2 separate regions of the Homo sapiens genome follow, and region 1 is linked to region 2. The links are contacts of gene promoters, found by promoter capture Hi-C in human tissues and cell types (Jung and others, 2019). All regions are on one chromosome and are shown on one strand. The core of a region is centred on a gene start or on the middle of the fragment in contact, and the rest is flanking DNA. Distances in the headings are between cores, read along the strand shown. Region 1 has its middle 170 kb from the start of NYAP2. Region 2 holds the start of NYAP2 (neuronal tyrosine-phosphorylated phosphoinositide-3-kinase adaptor 2).

Region 1 (6,850 bases), core at 543-3,042, 170 kb after region 2:
AAATGTCCCAACCATCACTATAGCCTCACACAGATCAAATCTAATGATCTCATGGGTTTCTGTCATTTCCAAGAAAACGCCATGAGCTTTCACTACTTGCTGATGCTTTCCTTTCCCTATTTGCATATTTGGCTTTCTATCTATCTATCTATCTATCTATTTATCCATCCATCCATCTATCAATCATCTATCTCGTCTTTTCTTTTCTTTATTTTATAAAGCACCCAGATTAATAAAGGACAGCTCCTTACAGAAGTCTTCTCTGCCTTATCCACTCTTATTCCCAGTTTTCTCTATCAATCCTTCACCTACTTCCTTCATAGCACTTTCAAAACTGATATTATTCAATTTCATCACCTGTTTTCTTACTTGTCAGTAACAGTCATTTGAGTTTACCTTGACGCTTCAAAAGTCAGGAAATACAAATACCTTGTCCACTGCACTATTTCCACCCCAGTGCCTTAGCAGAGTAGGGCCACCTGAAAGAATGGATACGCTTAGATGCCTGTTTGCCAACCATTCGTGCAATGACGGGCTAGGCAAATACATGTGGTCTCCCTCCAGTTCCTTTCTACCTCCACCTCTTTAATAGCTCAGTAGTTGCAAGGGGACTTCTCTCTCCCTCCATTTCTCCCTGGCCCCTTACTCCAATGGTCCCCATAGGGTCATTCAGGGAGTTTCCTGCTCTGTACTACAGGTGAGCTTGATACATACAGGTCTAATGCAGCCAACGTGTTCTCTATGTAAACAGAGTGATTCTCCAGCCTCTGTCATTTGAAACTAATGCATCCTGAGTTGTTGATCCATTCCACTTTTGAGTGCCTTTCAGGTTTAAAAAGTTTTTCTCTTAGTTCTCTTTCATTTGTCATTGCACTAACCACAGTTCCTGGCCCACTCAGAACAAACTTAATCCCTTTTCTATATGACAATGTTTCCAATATTTGTAGGTAGCTACATGTCTAAGGTTTCTTTATTTTTTATTCCTAGCTTTTCTCCGTTGGTATTTTCTCCTTTGGTCTAATGAAAAACATCTCTCTCCCTTTTTGAGAAAATAAATGCATGTTTCTTTTGTATTGGAATATTTTCTCAGTGTCTTAGTTGGGGAGGGGAGCATTTTCCTCATGTCTCTGCTGTAAATTAAAGCAAAAATGAATGAAAAGAATATGATACCTGGTTTCATTCTTTTAAGCCAGTCAAATGTGCTGTTTCTAAAAGCACTGAGACTATATTCCCTTTCTGAGCTTTTTTGAAGGTTTTCTTCAGATACATTCTCTCTCAAATTAAGCTTTCTTTTATTGCAATTTAGTGTACATAAAGTAAATGGCCACATCTACGTGAAGAACATTAGCATTTGAGGACTTACTTTATGCCAGTGAGAGGTGACAGCGTGCTGGCAGTCCTCACAGCCCTCACTCGCTCTCGGTGCCTCCTCTGCCTGGGCTCCCACTTTGGCGGCACTTGAGGAGTCCTTCAGCCCACCGCTGCACTATGGGAACCCCTTTCTGGGCTGGCCAAGGCCAGAGCCGGCTCCCTCAGCTTGCAGGGAGGTGTGGAGGGAGAGGCGCGAGCGGGAACCGGGGCTGCGCGCGGCGCTTGCAGGCCAGCTGGAGTTCCGGGAGGGTGTGGGCTTGGCGGGCCCCGCACTCGGAGCAGCAGGCCGGCCCTGCCGGCCCCGGGCAATGAGGGGCTTAGCACCCGGGCCAGCGGCTGCGGAGGGTGTACTGGGTCCCCCAGCAGTGCCGGCCCACCGGCGCTGCGCTCGATTTCTCGCCAGGCCTTAGCTGCCTCCCCTCGGGGCAGGGCTCAGGACTGCAGGCCGCCATGCCTGAGCCTTCCCCCGCCTCCGTGGGTTCCTGTGCAGCCCGAGCCTCCCCGACGAGCGCCCGCCCCCTGCTCCACGGCGCCCAGTCCCATCTACCACCCAAGGGCTGAGGAGTGCGAGCGCATGGCGCGGGACTGGCAGGCAGCTCCACCTGCAGCCCCGATGCGGGATCCACTGGGTGAAGCCAGCTGGGCTCCTGAGTCTGGTGGGGACGTGGAGAATCTTATGTCTACCTCAGGGATTGTAAATGCACCAGTGGGTACTCTGTATCTAGCTGCTCTGGTGGGGCCTTGGAGAACCTTTATGTCTAGCTCAGGGATTGTAAATGCACCAATCGGCACTCTGTGTCTAGCTCAGGGTTTGTGAGTGCACCAATCCACACTCTGTATCTAGCTACTCTGGTGGGGCCTTGCAGAACCTTTGTGTCAACACTCTGTATGTAGTTAATCTAGTGGGGACGTGGAGAACCTTTGTGTCTAGCTCAAGGATTGTAAACGCACCAATCAGCGCCCTGTCAAAACAGACCACTGGGCTCTACCAATCAGCAGGATGTGGGTGGGGCCAGATAAGAGAATAAATGCAGGCTGCTGAGCCAGCAGTGGCAACCCGATGGGGTCCCCTTCCACACTGTGGAAGCTTTGTTCTTTAACTCTTTGCAATAAATCTTGCTACTGGTCACTCTTTGGGTCCACGCTGCTTTTATGAGCTGTAACACTCACCGTGAAGGTCTGTAGCTTCACTCCTGAAGCCAGCGAGACCACGAGCCCACCAGAAGGAACAAACAACTCCAGATGTGCTGCCTTAAGAGCTGTAACACTCAGCACGAAGGTCTGCAGCTTCACTCCTGAGCCAGCGAGACCACGAACCCATCAGAAGGAAGAGACTCCGAACACATCCGAATATGAGAAGGAACAAACTCCAGACGCGCCACCTTAAGAGCTGTAACACTCACCACGAGGGTCCGCGGCTTCATTCTTGAAGTCAGTGAGACCAAGAACCCACCAATTCCGGACACATCAGTGCTTACTTTATGTTACTATGTCATTTGTTTTCCACATTTTACTTATCATCTGGGTATAATTATCCTCATTTTTTACATTAGGAAATGAGGGAGTTAAGTAATTTGTCCTAGGCACACAACTCATAAATGAGTGAGACTGAATTTCTACCTTCATTTTATATCAAGTTGTTCAATGAAACAAAAAGAAGAACTTAAAGAAAAAAACACTGTAAATAAATTAGCCAGATGCTGGTACTAAGATTGCAAAACAGAATAGATATGCAACACACCACTAAAGAAGATTACTAAATGAAATTAAGGAAAAAAAAATCTGAAGCAGTGTTTGATCACAAGTGAAATATTAGTACATACCTTTCTAGTGGTTGGCACAGAAGTGATGTTGGCAATAGGATTTGAAGAACAGAAGTGATATAATAATATAACATTAAAGTGAAAGAGTGAGTAATCCTTTCAGCAAGTGAGATCCTTATTATAATAATGCCTAATATTGATCATCAGCCTTTAAAAAATTCTAGAATAATTGGAGAGAGTTCAAGAAATACAAACAGAAATAATGAAATTGGCAAAAAATAGTATAATAAGGCACCCAAATTACTTGCTAAAAATGAATATACAAACTAATGAATGAAATTGGCTCTTTATACTAGAACAAAAAAAAATACGAAATGGTGACCTGATTACAATCTTGAAGGATTGAATGGGGTTGTTCTCTGCATCTGTAGAGATTTTTAAAGCGATATTTAAAAGGGGATCTTTTCATGAGATTTTAAGAATAACTCCTCTATCATCAAAATGACACAATAGTGAAATAGAGTGTCATAAGTGGTGGACAGATGTTCATAAATAATTAAGAACAGAATAGAAAATGATTTGTTAGAAATGATTTTGGCTTTTGGGGTCAGAATGCATGGGTCTAGACCATTACTGCCATTGTAACCCTTTCCCCTCACTCAAGGACATCCCGGTTTAATCCACTCATTGTCATAAAAATAAAAATCTATCTCCCATTAAATATCTCAACAGAAGTCCCACTGAATACATCCCTAAGTTTAAAAATTATTGCCCACAGAAATAGTAAATTAATATCAACAACAGTGACAAGTAGCTTCTGTATTTGTCAACGTTCTCTGAGAAACAGAGGTCAAGACTGAATCCAATGTGAAAGAAAATCTTAAGGAAAACACCTGTGACTGAAAATGGGAACAATATTGAAAGAGGCTGGGAGTGCCATCAGATCTCCATGCATTTCTGATCTCAAGTGAAGGAGAGAAGGGAGAAAGGAAGCTTGGGTAGAAACATCTTAGACTGCAGAGCAGTTTTAAAGGAAATTCAGCCAGACTGTTGAGGAGTCCTTCACCCAAAGTCACCTGTCAGAAAGAATCTACCCATCACCTAATCTCCCAGGAACTGTCTGTCTCGGTGTCTTTGCCACAGTCATTAGCACTTACACAGCAATAAATTTCAGAATCACCAGCTTCTACCCTAAATCAGTTTCACTTTCTTCAATGATCTGAAAGGCACTTTCCCATGTCCACCAAAGCCACAGTTACTTATGTCCTAATTTTGTGCCACTCACTGTGTCTAATACTCTGAGACGTGTTGAATTTTTACAAAACTGTTGAATATTCCATCTCTTTGACTCAAAAGCTTTTGCTCCTAACCTCCACTATCTGCCTCCTACAAGACTATTCCACCTCCCTCTATGCCATACCACCCTGATCGCCCTTTAAAAATATCCAGAAGTCATAATTTAGGCTATGATTTAGAGCTATTTGTGTGTGGTTTTCACTGTGATAAAAACAGAAAGAATAGATCAATCTAACCCTTCAAATGCTTAAAAAGTGTACTTTGATGAACAGCACAAATTCCCTTAATAGGTTTGTACAGAATTTGTGACTCAGCATTTTCATGATCGCTACTTACCGGTAGCTATATGTTCATGAAGACCTCTCAATATGTATTACACTCATATTGCTTATATATTCTTGTTGTAGATTTATCTTATTTCTGAAAGTCTTGAACACAACCAGCATTTACCTCCTGTGGATACATGCCTCCTACGTCTTTAAATGTATTTTCCTTTTATCCTTTTCCAATGCTACTTCAATTTCTCATCTTGTATTTTGGTGATTGTTACTTTTATCACTTGCTTTTCAACTTGATCTCATTGAGAAGTTTTACGAATATGCTTTGTGTTCCCTCTGAGCTTTTAAGCAACAAACACTAGGTCTAAGCACCAAATTTGCAAATGAAAATTCCACCAATTATTTGCTTTTTCTGAATATGCCTTTGATTCTCTTCTGGAACATGATTTCATCAACTATCTAATTAACAACAATTGGGTGCTTTGTTTTTTTCAATTTTAAAAATTATTTTTATTAAGGTATACCTTGCATGCAATGAATCAAGCTATTTAAAGTATACTCTGTCATTCTCGCACACAAATGAAGTCATGTAAACACCAGCACAATCAAGGTGTAGAATAGTTTCATCGCCTCCCAAAATTCCCCCATGGATCTGTTGTTAGCTCCTACCCCCACCATCAGCTTCTAATAAACATTTACCTTTCTCCATCTCTGTAGTTTTGGCTTTTCCAGGATAGTATACCAATGGAAGCATATGATATGTAACCTTCATATCTGGCCTCTTTCACTTAGTATAATGAGATTCATATATGTGAACAGCTAGAGATAGGAGAAAATTATATCTGTTGCAGAAAGATTAATTTGGTAAATTTGTTTCATTTAACACATAATCCCCATGATTTATCGAGTTCCTATCCAGGTGTCACACCATGGACTTGCTGCTTTCCATATATCATCCCATTCCATCCTTAGTACAATCCAACAACGACAGTATTATGACATCCATTTACAGATAAAATTGAGGGTCAGAAGATTTAAGTAACTTATTTGGTATCACAGTTAGTAAATAAGTGATGTACAACTCTTAGTCGGAGATGTCCACATTCAAAGTCTATGCATTTTCAATTACATCATTGCTTCAACCTTAACTTTGGCTTAAAATATAATCTAAAGTAACTTTTTTAATGCTACTATATATAAACTTTCATCTGTAAAGCCAAACAGTGTATGTTCCATCTGTAAAAATCACATAGAAATGGCTTTTCTTCTACTGTATCTATTGTAAAACCCAGCTGGTTATAAAAACATTTTTATTCTGTTCTATACTATCTTGTTTCACTATACTAGATGGTCCAAATTTTTATGTTTCAGTTTTAAAATATTCTTGCTATTATTAATAGATCTACTTTTTGGGCAAATTGGCACAAAATCTTTACTTATTTGTTTTGCATCTATTTTAATTATATAAGCATAAGAATGAAACATATTAGGATATTGGATGCATATACCAAAATGGTCTAATGTTCCAGCATTTCAATAACATAATATGTTGATTTCGATTGTGAAGTACTATGTTTAAATCACATAAAGAAAACTCATAGATACTTATGAAATCCAGAAGTTGTTTTATAGACAGTTTGTATAAAATTAACATTGAATCATAAAATTGAACATGATTTTTGTAAAGAACAAAAATTCAGGAAAAATTATTTTAAATTCAGAAAAAAAAGGGAGAAAACCTTTGCACTTTTACATCAGTGCACCTTAGCAATTCACACGGAAGCTCCTTCATTTTTTCCACCCCACCTCATAATCTCTCATACAGAAGTAACTTTAAACAAATTATGTCTGTAGTCTCCATTGATATTATAGCATTGACTTTGGGAGGTATGAATTTAAATCCCAGCTCTGCCTTTATTTTGTGCTTTTGTTTTTTAGTCATGTTCTTTATCTTTTTGAATCTTATTTTCTGCCTAAACTTATTTTCTCTTTCCTTATCTTTATTACTTAAAATATTAATAAACTATCACTGGTAATTTATCATTGTAACTCTATCATTGGTAATAATCAACTCTGTCATTGGTAATTTCAAAGATACAAAATGTTCCACCATTTTGAAACAAAATAGAGAATTTTAAAATA
Region 2 (6,402 bases), core at 3,845-6,344:
TTTTAGATTACTGTATCTAGAATCATCACCATTCTAATATAAGTTAAAGATGTTGACTTTCACACAGCTGTATGGTTAATTGTTCAGCTTTATTTTATTTTTTCACTTTGTTATTTACATCATGTTGACCACACCCTTCACAAAGATCACTTTGTATAATACTGTGACACTTTCCAAAATTTGAAATTTCATTCCACCCAGCTAAATTGCACCAAATCAAACTGGTTTAATTCTTACCATAAGTTAAATACTAAGCATTTAACTGTTTATTGAGTTAACAATTTTCTTATTTTCTTTTGTGCAAGGCCATCATTATACTTTTCCAATGCTGAACCTAGAGCTTAAAGTAGCATTCCATTTCTTTACAATTGTTTCCACTGAAATAAAACTACCCATTATATACACATGTGGAGCATAAGCTAAGTCTGCTATGTCAAAATGGAATTCATAGAAACATTAAAACATTTAAAAAACAACTCGTTTTTTCTTTTTCTATAGTTTCCTGCTACTGCTTCCATCCAGAGAAGTCAAGAAGCTAAGACACTATGTGACCCTTAGTTCTGAAGCTTAAAAAAAAGCAGCATTTTTGAGAAAGAGGTGTATGCAAAAGAATCAAACTAAGATTATAGATTTATGTGGGCTATTCTCATTGTAAATTAAGGTATCAATTGCGTGTGGTCTCAATCTACCAGAGGGTATTTAATGTAGCACCAACTAATATCAAGATTGAGTTCCCCAAGGTATAGAGGGCTTTCGATTAATTCCAAGATACTGTTGAATCAAGGGTGTACAAAGAGTCAGATAAATATTAGGCATGCCATCTTCCTTCTCATACATGGTTAAGCATTTCTTTTCTCTTTGCTTCAGAGCAAATTTCTTCATGAGTGTAATTTCATACATTGTGATATCAACCACTCTAGCTCTATAAGGACTGACTAGAATGGACATGTACACTGATTTGTCAGGCAGAGGCTTCCAATGGGCAATTTATCTCCATTTACCAAAAGCAGAGTTTTATAGGTACTAGTATCATCTGAGTAAGTTAGTCCAGTAGCCTTCATAGGCACAGGTCCTTTTATCTTTTATTAAGGTATTTATCTGGAATTTCTGATATGGAGCTATTCTCCATCTGAAACTTTTATTTTCCAAGATATAAAGTTGTGACACCTCTGTTAATTTGGTTATTTGCCACATATACTAAGTGGTGGAGGGAGAAAAGGCTCTGTTTTGGGAAAGAATGGCTTCCTAATCTTAATACCTGAAGCTCTATGAGAAGCTTCCTTAATTTTAGGCCACAGTTAATCCTACAAGATAATCTTATAGCTATAATAAGATAGTTTATTTTGTGCGATTATTATAATGCTAATTGTGACCAGCCAGAAGAACACAATACATAGAATGGAACAAATGTCCTGATGGAAACCTAAATATTTTACTTTTATTGTACTTCACATTTGTGTTTTTATTTTATTTGCAGAGGGTAAAGTTTTCTAGTCTCCACCTTTATATATTTCTGAGCTCTTTAAACCACACCTGTCTCAATGCTGTGAGGAAGTTATTAGAATTTGAGTTATTAAGATTTGAGTTTCCTTCCTACTCCAATCATTGCATCTTCTTTGAGGTAGAGAATCCTACTTTTTTTCTAGTAGTATTGATCCAATAAAAGTTTCCCAAGGCAATTTTGACTATTTTTTGTTGTTTTTGTTTAGCAGGAGAAAAAAATCTTTTACAACTTTTGCATGTACTCAAACCAATTTGAAAACACATTGTGTATGAAAATGTAAGGATTTAAATAATCAGGCTTCTGATACATATGTAAAATACATATGCAAATTAATATTTAAAATTTGCTGACTTCACATAGGACCAAATCATCAGACTAGCCTGGTTATAACCCATAACACATGTAAACCATGTCAAAATTTTTTTCTGATAAAATCTTATAATTTGTCAAGCATTACTCCTATAATTTCACTTTGATTATGCTTGAAATCCTACTCCCTACCCCACAAATGGTCACACTCATTTTCTCATTCTCAGTGTCATCAAAATGCAGCTGTTCTGCCCAAAATGGGAAATGTTGAAGCTACAACCAAGAAAGCTTGCTAAAGTGACTACAAAGACACTGATTGCTTTTTTCTCAGAAAGCAGATTACTTTGCAGTGAGTTTTTCTCCACTATCTCTCTTCCCAAAATGAGTAAGATAGGCATAAATCGTGTTAATGCAGTAGCATCATGAATTGGTATCTCCCCCTCATCTTCCAGGTTGTCATGGTGCTGTTTGCCCATGGTGTAAAGAGATTGTACATTTCCATTAATATTGGAGACTCATGCAAAATGCCAGTGGCTGAGATACTTTTTGGAGGCTTGGGCCAAATGGTTCCAGATGCTTACAAGGCATTATTTGCAAAGTAGATGTAGTCAGTCTAATAAATTGCTGACTGGAGCTACAGTGGGAACCATCTAATTGAATTGGGAGTCTATAATTTATTTATTTTTTTAAACAATAACCAACCTTCTTGTGTCTAGGATTTTTACACTTCTCTTTCTAAACTTGACAGATGCTTCAAGTCCTCAGGCTTCTCCACTGTCCCTTGTGCAGTTGTAATATTTTCCTCTGGTCTGTTTCCACTAATTCTCTAAACTGTCTATGTCCTTCACATAGTCCCTTTCTTTGCTGAGTTGGCTCATGTATGTTGCACTTTCCATAGGAAAACAAAATAATTTCTGCATTTGTGGACCACATTTTCTCATTAATTTGTGTAATTAGTGCTTGACAATATATAAAATAAATGAGAACATTGTCTAAAATGTGAAGAATTAGGAAGAGAGTTAATTTTCACTCTTTCTCTATATTTGTTATTCCACACTACTTGGTTATAAATGCTTGGATGTTAAAATGACTAAAACTACATCATGTAAGCTTTTCAGAATTTCATTATTTTTCGGCTATATTTAGAAAAAAAAATCCAATTCTATGGTACCAAAAGAACTTTAGTATTTCCCAATGATAGTGAAAAATATTATTTTATGTAATAGTTTTTCCAGATATGAAATACTCACATGTCTTGTATTTAAAATATTGCTGAGTAGTTGGAAAAATTAGGATGGAGACACCCCAACAAAATAAGAACATGTCCCAAGTAAAACAAGTCCACCTAAAGTTTTACAGAAAATATTTATTGTGATGAGACTAATAAAATCTTTCTGACATTGAATAGTATTAAAAAATGTTTCTCAAAGAGGTTTATGTCTAATCAGTCAGGAAGAAGCAGTGTCGGCTTTGCTGTTTGTCTGGTAGTTTTGAATTTTGGGGGATACTGTGTCTTTTCTCCTGAGAATGTAAAATTGGGCTCTCACTGCTGACATAAATGTGCTAAGAGACAGTTGTAAAATATTTATGGTATGGAATAGCGGATAAATAGCTAGCATGCACAACTTGAATGCCAATTAATACCCTGGAAAACATTTTCAAAGCTTTAATAATTCAACATGGCTTATTTTACTAATGAAAATCTAGTTTAACCATTTCCATGGTAATGTAACTAAGTGGGTAAGGGAGTAAAAATAGCCTCAGGCTCACTAAAGCCCTGGATGCCTTCACTGTGGCTTTATTTCTGCTCCACCTAATAAGGCATGCAAACTTCAGCATTAAGTATCCCTAACTAAAATCCATTCCATTTTATCACCAGATTGCTTGATCTATTCAGTGCTGGATTCGATTAGCATGCTTAGAGAATCTGAAAAATGAGATACATACCAAAATTTAAGTCCCCAGGGAGAGCTAAGTGCAATAACCAGAAGGTGACTTGTGTCTGTCAGAGCCCTCTCTCACGGTTGATCTCAGGGCAGTTCTGTAGGAGTAATCCAGCACCATAAGAAATAGACTTGTAGTTCAGCTCAGTGTTTCTTCAATTAAAGTGCATTGTGTCTGGATGGGAAAAGTGTCGACTCCCAGATTCTTCATCACTAGATCAGAGCATTCTCGATGTCCTTCCTATCAGATAAAATGGCCTTTAAAGTTTGCTAGGAAGATGCAGTGGCGGAAGACAGGTGCTTGCTTCCTTAAATCGACATTCGGAGAAAAGAGGGCATAGCTAATGGGTGGGGATGAACACACAGCCCCTCTCCTTCCAGGTCCAGCAGGGAAGAAATTGAATGATTTTACCCACTTTGCTACACAGATGATTACAGGACCAGAAGCAATCACCAAGCTGGCTAATGTACCTCATTTGATTATATTCTGCGAAGACAAAAATAAATGAAAACAAAAAATCAGAAACATCCTTTCTAAATGTCTCCTTTCAGCCAAAAAGATGCTCTTTCTCATTGCCACTTACATACAGAAGGTTTGGAGCAGCCCAGCTTGTGGCATAGTCCCTCCCCCGTGACAACCAGCTCTCTCTCTCTCATTCTCTCTCCCTCCACTCCCTCCCTCCCTCCCTGCCCCTGACTCCCTCCCTTCCTGCTTCTCTTTCTCCTCTCCAGCTGCCTTAGTCTGTTGAAGCTGCTGCTGATTAATCAGGGATTCTGAAACAAAGAACCTACCTTCTGAAATAAGCAGTAATCTTTCTTCTCTGTTTCTGCAATCCGTCTGCATTGAACGGCAAGGCTGCCAGCGTTCTAGCACCTTGGATAGTTCCTGCTCACTAGGCCCATTGGAAAAGGGAGAAGCAACTGAAGAAATTGCAAGAAACCGGAAAGCGGCATCGTTCTACTTTGGATTTCGGCTCCCTGGGGGCTCCCATCCTCATTAAAGGCCTCACATCTAGGCAACAGAACCTCTCTCTTTTATCTAACTGAGCTGAAGTCTGATTAGTAAATAATAAAAGGAAAAGAGGGTAAAGAAACACCCTTCATTTATATTCACTATAGCACTAATTCAGTCTTTATGGAGAGGAAAAATATAAATCCATTGAAAACAAATGTTCTTACTACAGAGAATGGTTAAGTTATAAGCATTTCACCCCTGGCGTGGCTAATGAAAATGAACAACAACTTAAATGGAACATCTAGATCTCAGTTTGATACCCTTATTTGATATCAATTTTGCCTCCACCCTCCCTGCACAGCCGAGCCATGCACACAATTACTGCTGACGTACTTCAGGCTGCTGCTTGGGGAGAGAGGGGAGGAGCCTTTTAACCTCATCAAAACAGCTTCATGCCACCTGCTCCCATGGCATGAGAACAAAACTAGTCCACTTAGAAAGAATATGCACAGCACACACGTGTGTGGAACAAAGGTCTTACTCGGACTGCACATTTTTTTAACTAAAATAAGATGCAAAATAATTATGATATGTATGTCATTAATTCCTATAGACTCATTGTTAAAATTAAAGTCATTCTATTTCTGATATTTCCCAAAGACTCTCCTCATTCTGTTCTTAATACTCTACTGAATATATACATATATATCACATTATATACCACAACTTATATATGTGTGTTTGTGTGTATTTGTATTTATTAAGCTCAAAGTTTTTCTCATACTGGCTCCTCCTCAGTAAAAACTAAAATGTACATGTTTTAATCTATTAATTTTGCACTATGATAAAAGGAATAATATATAATATGTTTCTGATGGATATGAGCTTAAAAAGCAATTTTGATGGGAGGGGATGTGCTTATTACTTGATAGTGACCTATAGATTTTTCCCCTCACATTCTTTTTCAGTAACTCACTGTAAATGACCTTCACTTGCAGGTTGGTTTTCCCAAGAGTGTTTTTTAACGTCTATATTCATAACCAAAGTCTTAGAAAATAGTTTTCTGAATTTAGTTTTTAATGCATTGACAGACCACAAAAATAAACAAGTTCACCTGTCTAATTCTTAAATGTCACCTGAGACTGTGCTGTAATTTTCTTAAATTATATTTCTTTAACTTGTAAGTATCTGGGGAAAAATAAAATCAACACATTACATTACTATAAAGCTTTTCTATTTTACATGTCCTGAAGTGCATTCCTGAAGCTCATCACTTATTTCTTGGTCTTTGTGTATCTAGCTTTTGGTTAGAACAGGACATCTGTTTAATTTTAAGAAGGATTCTGCAAGATTAGATAGATGAAAAGGAGGAGAAATACAAACGGGGAAGAGAAGAGGCCAGACCTCTCTCATATTCTCTTCCCCCTATCCCAATGCTCTCCCTTTCCCTCTCTCTCTCTCTCTCTCTGCCTTATGAAGGTTCTAAATACTTAGCACATTGCTGAAAAGTGCCTCAAGCACCACTTATAAACTAGTAACAGCCACCACACTGTGATCAAGAGGTTTACTAATGTGCCATTATTTTGGTAGTGAAGTGTTCTCATAGATGTTGTCTTTCAGCACATGACCAAAGGTGGAAAAAGTTCTTTACAAAAAAAAAATTATTGACAGACATTTTAGAAAACGGAAAC

Evidence for each region. The method cuts DNA at HindIII sites, captures the fragments that hold promoters and counts their contacts. A contact is called where the count stands out against the background at its distance.
Region 1: a fragment that was not itself captured here is called in contact with the fragment with the promoter of NYAP2 in region 2 in 2 of the 25 tissues and cell types used here (adrenal gland and hippocampus).

Annotation. Positions count from the first base shown.
Region 1 is chr2:225,224,537-225,231,386 of GRCh38, reverse strand. No RefSeq gene overlaps it. Among named protein-coding and RNA genes, the nearest start is that of NYAP2, 170 kb to the left of the region's middle. The HindIII fragment of the contact is 5,034 bases long and covers 1-4,309 here.
Region 2 is chr2:225,398,402-225,404,803 of GRCh38, reverse strand. NYAP2 (neuronal tyrosine-phosphorylated phosphoinositide-3-kinase adaptor 2) reads right to left here and starts at 5,094. Exons shown (of 8, transcript NM_001371273.1): 1 at 4,549-5,094; 2 at 3,761-4,243. The HindIII fragment of the contact is 4,626 bases long and covers 3,201-6,402 here.